Regions from separate parts of the Homo sapiens genome. Here region 2 is linked to region 1. Evidence: promoter capture Hi-C in 16 types of primary human blood cells and fetal thymus (Javierre and others, 2016). All regions are on one chromosome and are shown on one strand. Each heading gives the region's core, a stretch centred on a gene start or on the middle of the fragment in contact. The rest is flanking DNA. Distances are from core to core; before and after follow the strand shown.

Region 1 (4,671 bases), core at 1,185-3,684:
CACATCAAATTCTGAAGAATCTTCCAGACCATGATCTCTGACCACAATGCAATATAATTAGAACTCAACAAGAAAAACATAAACCTCCCATAGGCTGAGAAACTGAAAAACATACTTTGAAATCATTCAAGAGTTAAAGAGGAAATTACACTGAAATTTATGAACTATTTAGAACTGAATGATAAGGAAAACACAAGCAGTTTCCAAATCATTTCCCCTATGAAGTCAGCCCTGACCCCACATGGCTCCTCAGATGGCTCTCCACCCTCTACCCATTTCTACGCCCTAGGAGGCTGACGTCTATGGGCTGCAGCAACAGGTTCCCTTGTTCTTAGCTTCTGGGAGGATTCAGCTAGTGGGGGAAACCTGGCCAGAGATCAGACGGAGGGAGAGAGGGAGGAGAGTGAGGCCTCTTACTTGCCCCCTGTCCTTCCCTGTATGATTGCTGTGAGCTGGGTATGCCCCTCCACCTTAGGCCACAGCAGCGCCCTCCTCATAGCTCCCACTTTCACCATTCCTTCCCCACACTCCTGCAGCCTGGGGTTGACAGCCTCTGCTCTTGTGAGCCCTTTGGTGATACACTGTGTGGTTTCCCTACACCTTGACCATACCTGTAAATAATGTCTTCATTAAACATACCCATTCTGGGTGTTCCATGTGCTTCCTGCAAATACCCCGACTCTTACAAAGTCCGTCAGTCCACAACCACATTCTCACTTCTGGGTGACTGAGCTGTGACCTTGTGTATCTCTGTGTGTTGTCCCCTTTACTGACCTGTCAGCACCTGAGGTCGGCAACCAGGTCAGCTTTATCACCCAGTCCCCTGATCTGATATGAGTGGAGAGTTATACTCAATAAAAGATATTGATTAGGATATCAAATAAATAAAGAAGCATAGTTTAATTTGCTCCATAAGCAAGTGTTTGTTTATAGGGGATTCAGGGCAGAGAGTTAAGAGTCAGACATAAAAATACAGAGAACTTTAGACTGGGGCAAAAATTGGTGCTCAACAAAAGAACATACCCACAGTTCTATGAGCTGGGATTCTTTCTTTACTTTTATTTTAGGTTCAAGGGTACATGTGTAGGTTTGTTATATAAGTAAACTCTGTGTCATGGGGATTTGGTGTACAGATAATTTCATCACCGAGGTAAGCAGCATAGTACCTGATGGGTATTTTTGTCTCATCCTCCCTCCTCCCGCCCTCCACTCCCAAGCAGGCCCCAGTGTCTGCTGTTCCCCTCCTAGTATCTATGTATTCTCATTGTTTAGCTCCTACTTGTAAGTGAGAATATGCAGTATTTGGTTTTCTATTCCTGTGTTAGTCTGCTTAGGATAATGGCCTCCAGCTCCAGCCCATGTTGCTGCAAAGGATATGATCTGGGTTAAGGATCTAGCGTGTTCTCATGTCATCCAGCAACAGAAGGTCCAGACACAAGGGAGGTCCAGTGTGCCATGGTAAATGCCCACCTCTGGCCTCCAGCTCTCCCCTACCCGCATCTACTCACCTCCCACCCCTCCAGAGTGGCTTCTATGGCTAAGCTCTCTGCTTTGGGCTTCCTACCCTAGAAAGCCTCCAATCTTCCCTCCCATCCCAGACAGAGCAGCCAACTGGTCCCTGGGCCTGGGGGCCACGGTGTGCATTGAATGCTGGTGGGATATCTGTCTGTCCTCGAAGGAACCCAGGTGGTAGGGAGAGCAGATCAGATCTTGAGTGGTTTGGATTTGTCAGAAGGAAGGAGGGAGAGAAGGTATTCTAAAATGGAACAGCTGGGATAAGGGTCTGGAGATAAGAAATGGGGTGACTCTGGGTAAGGAGCAAGGAGAATCAGCCCAACCTGAGCCAGGCCCCCTCCCTGGTGAGGAGATGAAGTTTGTGATTTGAGCGCTCTTCTGGGGCTTGTCCCTCAGGGGTGAAGGACTCAGCTCATGATTCCCAAGGCGTTCATTTATTCCTTCACTCACCCATTCATTCATTCATCAAGTGGGTTTTGAGTTCCTGCTATGTGCCAGGAGCTGAGGATATGGGAGTGGATAGGACGGTCCCGATCCCTTATTGGGTCCCGGGACAAGTGTGACGCAGACGATTCTAGGAGGGCAAAGAAACCACCCTTATCTAGCAGCTCTTGTTTCTGCTCCAGAAGAAGCCGAGCGTTTTCCCATTTTACTGTCTGGGAACTTGAGGCTGCCTCCTTGGTGGAGGTCCAAGGAAGCACCGAGAGGGCGGGCAGCTCAGTTAGTCCTTTGTCCAAGGGGAAGCTGGGAGCCCCATATGGACTTTCCGGGAAGGTGGGGGCGAGTGCGTCTGTGTACTGGAGTGGAGGGGAGTCCCCTTTCTCCGCCCCTCCCCGCCCCGTGGCCGCGGCGTGGCGGGGCCGGGGCGGAGCTGGCGTCGCCCGGGGCAGGAGGGCAGCCGCGGCCGGCAGGACAGGCAGACGGACAGGCTGACAGGAGAGAGAACAGGCACTGCGGGACCTGCAGGAGAAAGGCGATCCTGTGGCTGGGAATGTGACCCCACGGCCAGAAGAGGACCCGTGAGTGTGCGCCGTGCCCCTGCGGCCTCGCCGCGCACCCCGCCCGCCTGGCTTCCACTTTCATTTCTTCGGCCGTCCTGGCGTGGCACAGTCCGGAGGAGAGTCCCGCCCGAAGGCAGGCTGGCCGCTGTCCTGAGGCTGGCGTCCGAGGCTCAGAGCTTCGAAAGTTGCGGGGGGGATTGTCGGGGTGGGGGAGTACGGGGCAGAGGGGAGGGGTTGGGGGGCGTGTTTTCGGGGAGCGGAAATGTCAGGCGGGCTCCTCTGGGTCCTACGACCTTCCTGGCCCTGGGAGCTGGTTTGAGGTTGCAGGGAAGCCGGGGGTGGGCGTGGGTGGCTGCGCGCCGCGAGGAGAGCGTGGAGTCTTCGCCTCTACTTTTTCTCTTCGACCTCTGTCCTAGAGAGAGTCCCAGGATGGATTCTGGGTTCAAACTGGGGCCATCCTCTGGCCCAGATCCTGGGCCAGGCCCAAGGAGTGGTAGATGTAGCCTAGCAGGGGGCTAAATATCAGAAACAGGTAGGGTCAGCCTGCTGTCTTCATTTGAGAAGCCCAGATCCGCACCCAGGGAACGAGCAAGGCACTGCCACTCCAGGAGTGAAAGGATAGCCATCACTGGGAAATGGGGGCTAGGACGGGGAACGGCAGTGGTTCAGGGAGAGACAGAGGTTCTGTGACAGATAGAAACTCAGTGAGGGCATGGGGGTGGGGAGTGAAGGGAGTTAACCCTGTGGCTAGAAGAGCACCTGCCCTGCACCCACCCCCTGAGCTTACATTTTCCTGGAAAGAGACCCAGGCCTTGAAGTTCCACAGGAGTAAGGTGGAACTCTAGCTCACTGGTCAGGACACCCCAGTTGCTGTGCGGAGTCAGTGTGTTGGGGACAGGAAGCAGGTTGGGCTGTTTGGTGGAGAAGATGCTTCCACTGTCCCTCCACTCCCCTCCTCTTCTCTGTCTCCACCAGACCATTGATGAGCCAGTGCAGGAAAATGGTCTTTTACTCTTGGTCATGAGCTGAGCCCCACCTTATCCCAGTTCCCAGTTCTGCTTGTAACTTGCTATGTGGACACAGGCTCCTCAAGTCCTCTTTTTAGGCCTCAGTTTCCTCATCTGGGCCTCAGTTTCCCCATCTGTACAAGTGAGTTGGGCCAGCTGATCTATCAGGGCTATTTTAACTCTAAGATTCTAGTCTAAGCTTTCCTTAAAGCCTGAACACTGACTTTGTGCCAGGCCTTGTCCTAAGCTGGGGGTGGGTTGGGGATGGAGTGGAGACTGCAATGACCAAAAGCAGCCTCTACCCAAGGAGAAGGAGATCTGAGTTCAGGAGAGGAGGCTGTGGGAGGAGGTAGCAGCCAATCTGAGGATGTGTGGTCAGGCAGGTGGAGGGATAAGAAAACATGCAGAGGCAAAAGAGTGGGGGCGTGTTCAGGAATCAGGAAGAAGCCCAGGGTGGTTGGTGTGGGGAGGTGGGAAGTGGGGCAGGAAAGGTAGGACAAGGTGCTGAATGCCAGGGTGGGGGCCTATTTCTAACTGTCATAAAGGGGGCCATGCAATGTGGGGAGCCCAGGAGCCCCGCCTAATTGCAGTGTGAGGGATTTTGGAAGCACTTGCCCCAAGCAGAGTTTAAAATGGAGATGGCAAATGAAGCGCAGAAATCTCTTTGCTCTGGAAACTGGGGTCCCACCCTGGGGACTTCTTTGGGTGAGAAGTCGAAGAGTCGGGATGGATGAGATGACCTTTCACATCTGTGAGTTTTTTTCAAGAGAACAAGTTCCTGCTGAATGGCCTGTTTCTACTCTCCAAGCTGCTCTCATTTTACCAGACTGCCCCCATCCTGGCCTGCCTTTGTGGGTTCAAGGAAGGACCTTTGTCTCAAACAGCTCCCCAGCTAGTTTGACTTCTTGCCAGAAGTAATACCCCTCCCCGAAATATGTGCCATCCCTTTGCTTTTACCCAGGTGTCACCTGGTTCCCACCCTCCCTTCCCCAATCCTGTCCCAGGGTTACCAGAGATGTGAGAAAGGACAGTGCTCCAGCGTCAGAGGTCAAGCCCAGGCTTTGGCCATAAGCAAGCCTCAGGGTAGGGCTAAAGGCTAGAGTCAGGGCTCACACTTGCCAGAGCCCAGGTCAGAGGTCAGCCAGGAA
Region 2 (4,671 bases), core at 549-3,048, 360 kb after region 1:
CACAGCCACCGCTGGACTGGCACCTTCAATTCCCAGCTAAGCTTGTATTTACAAAAGCAGGTTTTTAATTTATTCAGGCACACGTACATATGACTGATTTCAAAAACAGAAAAACCTCCATTTTACCTTGATAATTTGGAATGGGGACTTTGAAAGGCTTTGACAAAATGCTTCGAATAAATGCTTCCTAAAAAGAAAGGAGAAACAAGGATTCAGGACTGACTGGAGATGTTATGGGACAATATCATGATATGCTTCACATTAGGTTTTGTACAACAGCATCCATCTTCGAGGCTTTATGTAAGGTTCTACAAATATCCAGGGATAGCAGAAGGGCCCAGCCTCAGTCAACCACGAGGCTTAGAACCCAGGAAACCATTCACTCATTAAAAACCATGCCAGTGAGCATACCTAGCTCTTCCCTAGGGTATAGCACCTTGGAAAGCAAATACCACAGACTTAGCCAACCTGAGTAATAATGGATAATTCTAATGTCTGGGTTTAACCACTGTCATATAGGGTTACACCTTCCCAAGCACACCTCACAATTCTTTTTTTTTTTTTTTTGGCTACATCAGTTATGTCTAATATATCTAATACTCACATCAGCCTCCTTGGGAACTAAACAGCTCATCAAAGAGTAGTGATGGAGAAATGGGAGCCATCGTATTAATAAAATAATATTAACAACACCAGGCCGGGCATGGTGGCTCACACCTGTAATCCTAACACTTTGGGAGGCCAAGGCAGGAGGATCACTTAGGTCTGGGAGTTCGAGACCAGCCTGGGCAATATAGCAAGACCCCATCTCTATTTTAAAAATATATATTTAAAAATATAAATAAAAATAATGATGGCTACCAATGTATGCTAGACACAGAGCTAAGCCTCTTGCATTCATGTTACCATTTAATCCTAACAGCTGTATGAGGTCCATATATTACTGGTGTTTCCATTTTACAAATGAGCAAACTGAGGCTCAGAGTGATTAAGTCACTTTCTCAAGTCACAAAGCCATTACAAATGCAGGACTTTCCTGGTTCTAGGGTCCTTACTTGTACTCAGTAGGCAACGTGGCCTCTCACCCACTCTGAGTACAGCCATGCAGATCAGCCCAGACCCAGCAGCTTCCTGCCATGTAAAGCACAAGAGAAGGAACATGAGAAAGGGACATGAGAGAGAAGCTAAGCCCAACACTAAGAAAAAGCAAGTGGGACAAGGGTGACAGCAGGTAGACATATGTGGGTCCTAGAGAGGTAGCACTGGTGACTCCTCCACCTAAAGGCAAGAAGCCTCTGTACAAGCACTTCTGCCTTGAACCAGCATTATTCCATGGGCTATGGGGCTGGGGCAGGGGCAGAGAAGGCAGAAAAATTAACACTGAGCTAACTCTGACAGCTCCCATGGAAGTTCTGGTCCACACACACCTGAGCCCTTTGCGGAACTGTGATAGCCTGTGAACCTCAACAAAACCAGAGGTGGAAGCCAAGAGAGCAGAGAAATAAAGAGCAGAGACCCTGAAGGTAGTTTTAATGGGAATATATTAGTGGAAAAAGCAGTAATGAAAAAATGTCCCTTCTAGCAAAAAACATAGTCTAATAGGAAAAAAAGCAAGCCTGCCGTGATATTTTTACCTTTGTTTTCTGACTCATTTCTTCACACATCATCAATGTCTAGAAATTCAAATGTACTTTATTTGTTTTTTGGGGTTTTTTTTTTTTTTTTTTTTGAGATGGAGTCTTGCTCTGTTGCCCAGGCTGGAGTGCAATGGCACAATCTCAGCTCACTGCAACCTCCACCTCCCAGGTTCAAGCAATTCTCCTGCCTCAGCCTCCCAAGTAGCTGGGACTACAGGCACACGCCACCACACCTAGCTAATTTTGATATTTTTAGTAGAAACAGGGTTTCACCATGTTGGCCAGGCTGGTCTTGAACTCCTGCCCTCAAGTGATCCGTCCACCTTGGCCTCCCAAAGTGCTGGGATTATAGGCATGAGCCATCACACCTGGCCTCAAATGTACTTTAAATTTAAAAAAAGTAATGAATTTTTTTTGTGATATTAGAAGACAGAAAACAAGTATGTAGAAATGAACTTCCTTATCACACTAAATAACATGACAACATCACACTAAATAACATAACATAAAGGCAAAGTTGGCAAAAAACTCAAATGCTTTTGTTTATTTGCAAATTTCTTTGCATCTGAATAAAATCTTTTATTGACTTTTTTTTTTTTTAAAAGACAGGGTCTCATTTTGTCGCCCAGGCTGGAGTACAGTAGTGGTGATCATACCTCACTGCAGTCTCTAAGTCCTGGCTCAAGGGATCTTTCTCTAAGTCCTGGCTCAAGGGATCTTTCTCACCTTGGCCTCCCAAAGTGCTGGGATTATAGGCATGAGCCATTATGCCCAGCCTTTACTATTTTTAATTAGCATGACTGTAACTATGAATAGCAATGATAATCATTATGAAAAATGCTAACAAAAAGGACCCTTGGCCAGTGCAGTGGCTCATGCCTATAACCCCAGTGCTTTGGGAGGCTGAGGTGGGAGGACCGCTTAAGCCCAGGATTTTGAGACCACCCTAGGCAACGTAGTGAGACCCCCCCACACACCCCGTACACAAAATTTAAAAATTACCCAGGCACTGTGGCACATGGTCCCAGCTACTCAGAAGGCTGAGGCAGGAAGATCACTTGGCCTAGGAGTTCAAGGCTGCAGTGAGCTACAACTACACCACTGCACTCCAGCCTGGGTGACAGCAAGACCTGCCTCAAAGGAAAAAAAAAAGCTACTCTTAAGTCAAATGAGAGGAAAAGGAGATGGACCCTAATTTTCTTTTTAATTTGGCATCAATTCTAAAACAGAAATATTTTCAAAATTATCAGTATAGAAGGCTAGATTTGAGGCTCTGAGTAGCCAAGAATTTATGCCCTAAATTTAAAAAGACTTTCAATAGAACACAGGAACCATAGGTTCTGCAGGGAGAACTACAGGCTTGCATAACTGGTAAGGAAGAATGTGGAGACCCCTGGCCAAAAATGTCTGAGGGCTCAGCCTGCAAAATGGAATGGCCTGCTGGGCACAGTGCACGCCTGTAATCCCAGCACTTTGGGAGGCCAAGGCGGGCAGGTCACCTGAGGTCAGGTGTTCGAGATCTGCCTTGCCAACATGGTGAAACCCCGTCTCTGCTAAAAGTACAAAAAACTGAGCTGGGTGTGGGGGCGGGCACCTATAATTCCAGCTACTTGGGAGGCTGAGGCACAAGAATCACTTGAACCTGGGAGGCAGAGGCTGCAGTGAGCCGAGATCGCGCCACTGCACTCCAGCCTGGGTCACAGAGCAAGACTATGTCTCAAAAAAAAAAAAAAAAAAAAAAAAGGAATGGCCAACCTTCAGGGATCTGGTTTGGTGACTCACCAGTCTCTATAGCAGGGGGCAGGGGAGGGAGCATGCTCTTATTCTCTGTTCATTTAGTTACTGATAATTCATACCAATCTTTCCTTCTGATAGATGAGAGACAGCATCCCTCCTCCCCACCAAGGCTAAAGCTTCCCATTTCTGCAGAGAATCACTCTGTTATGACTGATCACTCTTGTATCTCAACCTCTCCCTCTCTACTAGCTCTTACCAGCATTTAAAATGGACTTAATTATCTCCTATCTTAAAAACAAATATTCATTTGATTGCTTATCTCTCCTCTCCACAGGCAAACTTCTAGTAAGTTATATAGCTCCCCTTCTTTCCTCCCACTCTTCCTGTCTTCTGCCCCTTCCACTCTGGCCAAGATCACGAATGGCCTACATGACCCTAATTCCAATGGACATGTATCTTACTTGACGAAGCTGACCACTCCTCAAATATTTTCTGCCTTTGATTTCCATGACACTACTCTCCACCTTTCTGGGATCTCATCTTCAGTCCCCTAATGAGCTCTTTTCCCTCTGCCTTTTAACCCTCAACCCACCCCCAGAGCTCAATGCTCCCAACCGGCTGCAGTGACTCACGTCTGTAATCCCAGCACTCTGGGAGGCCAAGACAGGAGGATTGCTAGAACCCAGGAGTTTGAAACCTGCCTGGGCAACACAGTGAGACCTGGTCTCTACATATCATTTAAAAATTAGCCAGGTTTGGTGGCACACGCCTGTGGTCCTAGCTACTCCAGAGGCTGAGGTGGCAGCAATACCCGAGCCTAAGATTGAGGCTGCAGTGAGCCGTGATCGCACCAGTGCATTCCAGCCTGGGTGACACAGCAAGACCCTGTCTCAGGAAAAAAAAAAAAAAAAAAAAGTCAGTGCTCCCCAGGGCTCAGGGTTTAGCCCTCAGATCTTCTGACTACCCATTCACCAATCCACTTACCAGGTATAAAATTTATCTATGCTAATGAGTCCCAGGTGTATTTCTAGTTATACCTTACTCCACATCCACATTTACAACTGACTCCAGACCTAGATCTCCTGCAGGGACTTCAAAATCATCATGTCTAAGGCTGAAGTCCTCATCTCCAAGGCCACACTATGACTCTTGTGGGCCCCAGGCACTTTTGCCTTTGGGACCCCTTCCTCCATTAAAAAAAGAAAAAAAAAAGAAAAAAAAAGAGGCCAGATGCAGCAGCTCACACCTGTAATACCAGCATTTTGGGAGGCTGAGGCAGGCAGATCACTCAAGGTCA

Evidence for each region. Contacts are between HindIII fragments. The CHiCAGO score rates a contact against its expected background, and 5 or more counts as called.
Region 2: a contact is called between a fragment that was not itself captured here and the fragment with the promoter of MOB3C in region 1, in 1 of 17 cell types (neutrophils). The highest score is 5.3, in neutrophils.

The regions. Positions count from the first base shown.
Region 1 is chr1:46,614,574-46,619,244 of GRCh38, reverse strand. It overlaps MOB3C (MOB kinase activator 3C), which reads left to right and starts at 2,434. Exons shown (of 4, transcript NM_201403.3): 1 at 2,434-2,534. RefSeq lists a silencer at 2,260-2,539 and an enhancer at 2,940-3,009. The HindIII fragment of the contact is 4,243 bases long and covers 1-3,724 here.
Region 2 is chr1:46,254,202-46,258,872 of GRCh38, reverse strand. RAD54L (RAD54 like) reads right to left here. Exons shown (of 18, transcript NM_003579.4): 4 at 127-187. Among named protein-coding and RNA genes, the nearest start is that of RAD54L, 8.8 kb to the right of the region's middle. The HindIII fragment of the contact is 3,509 bases long and covers 44-3,552 here.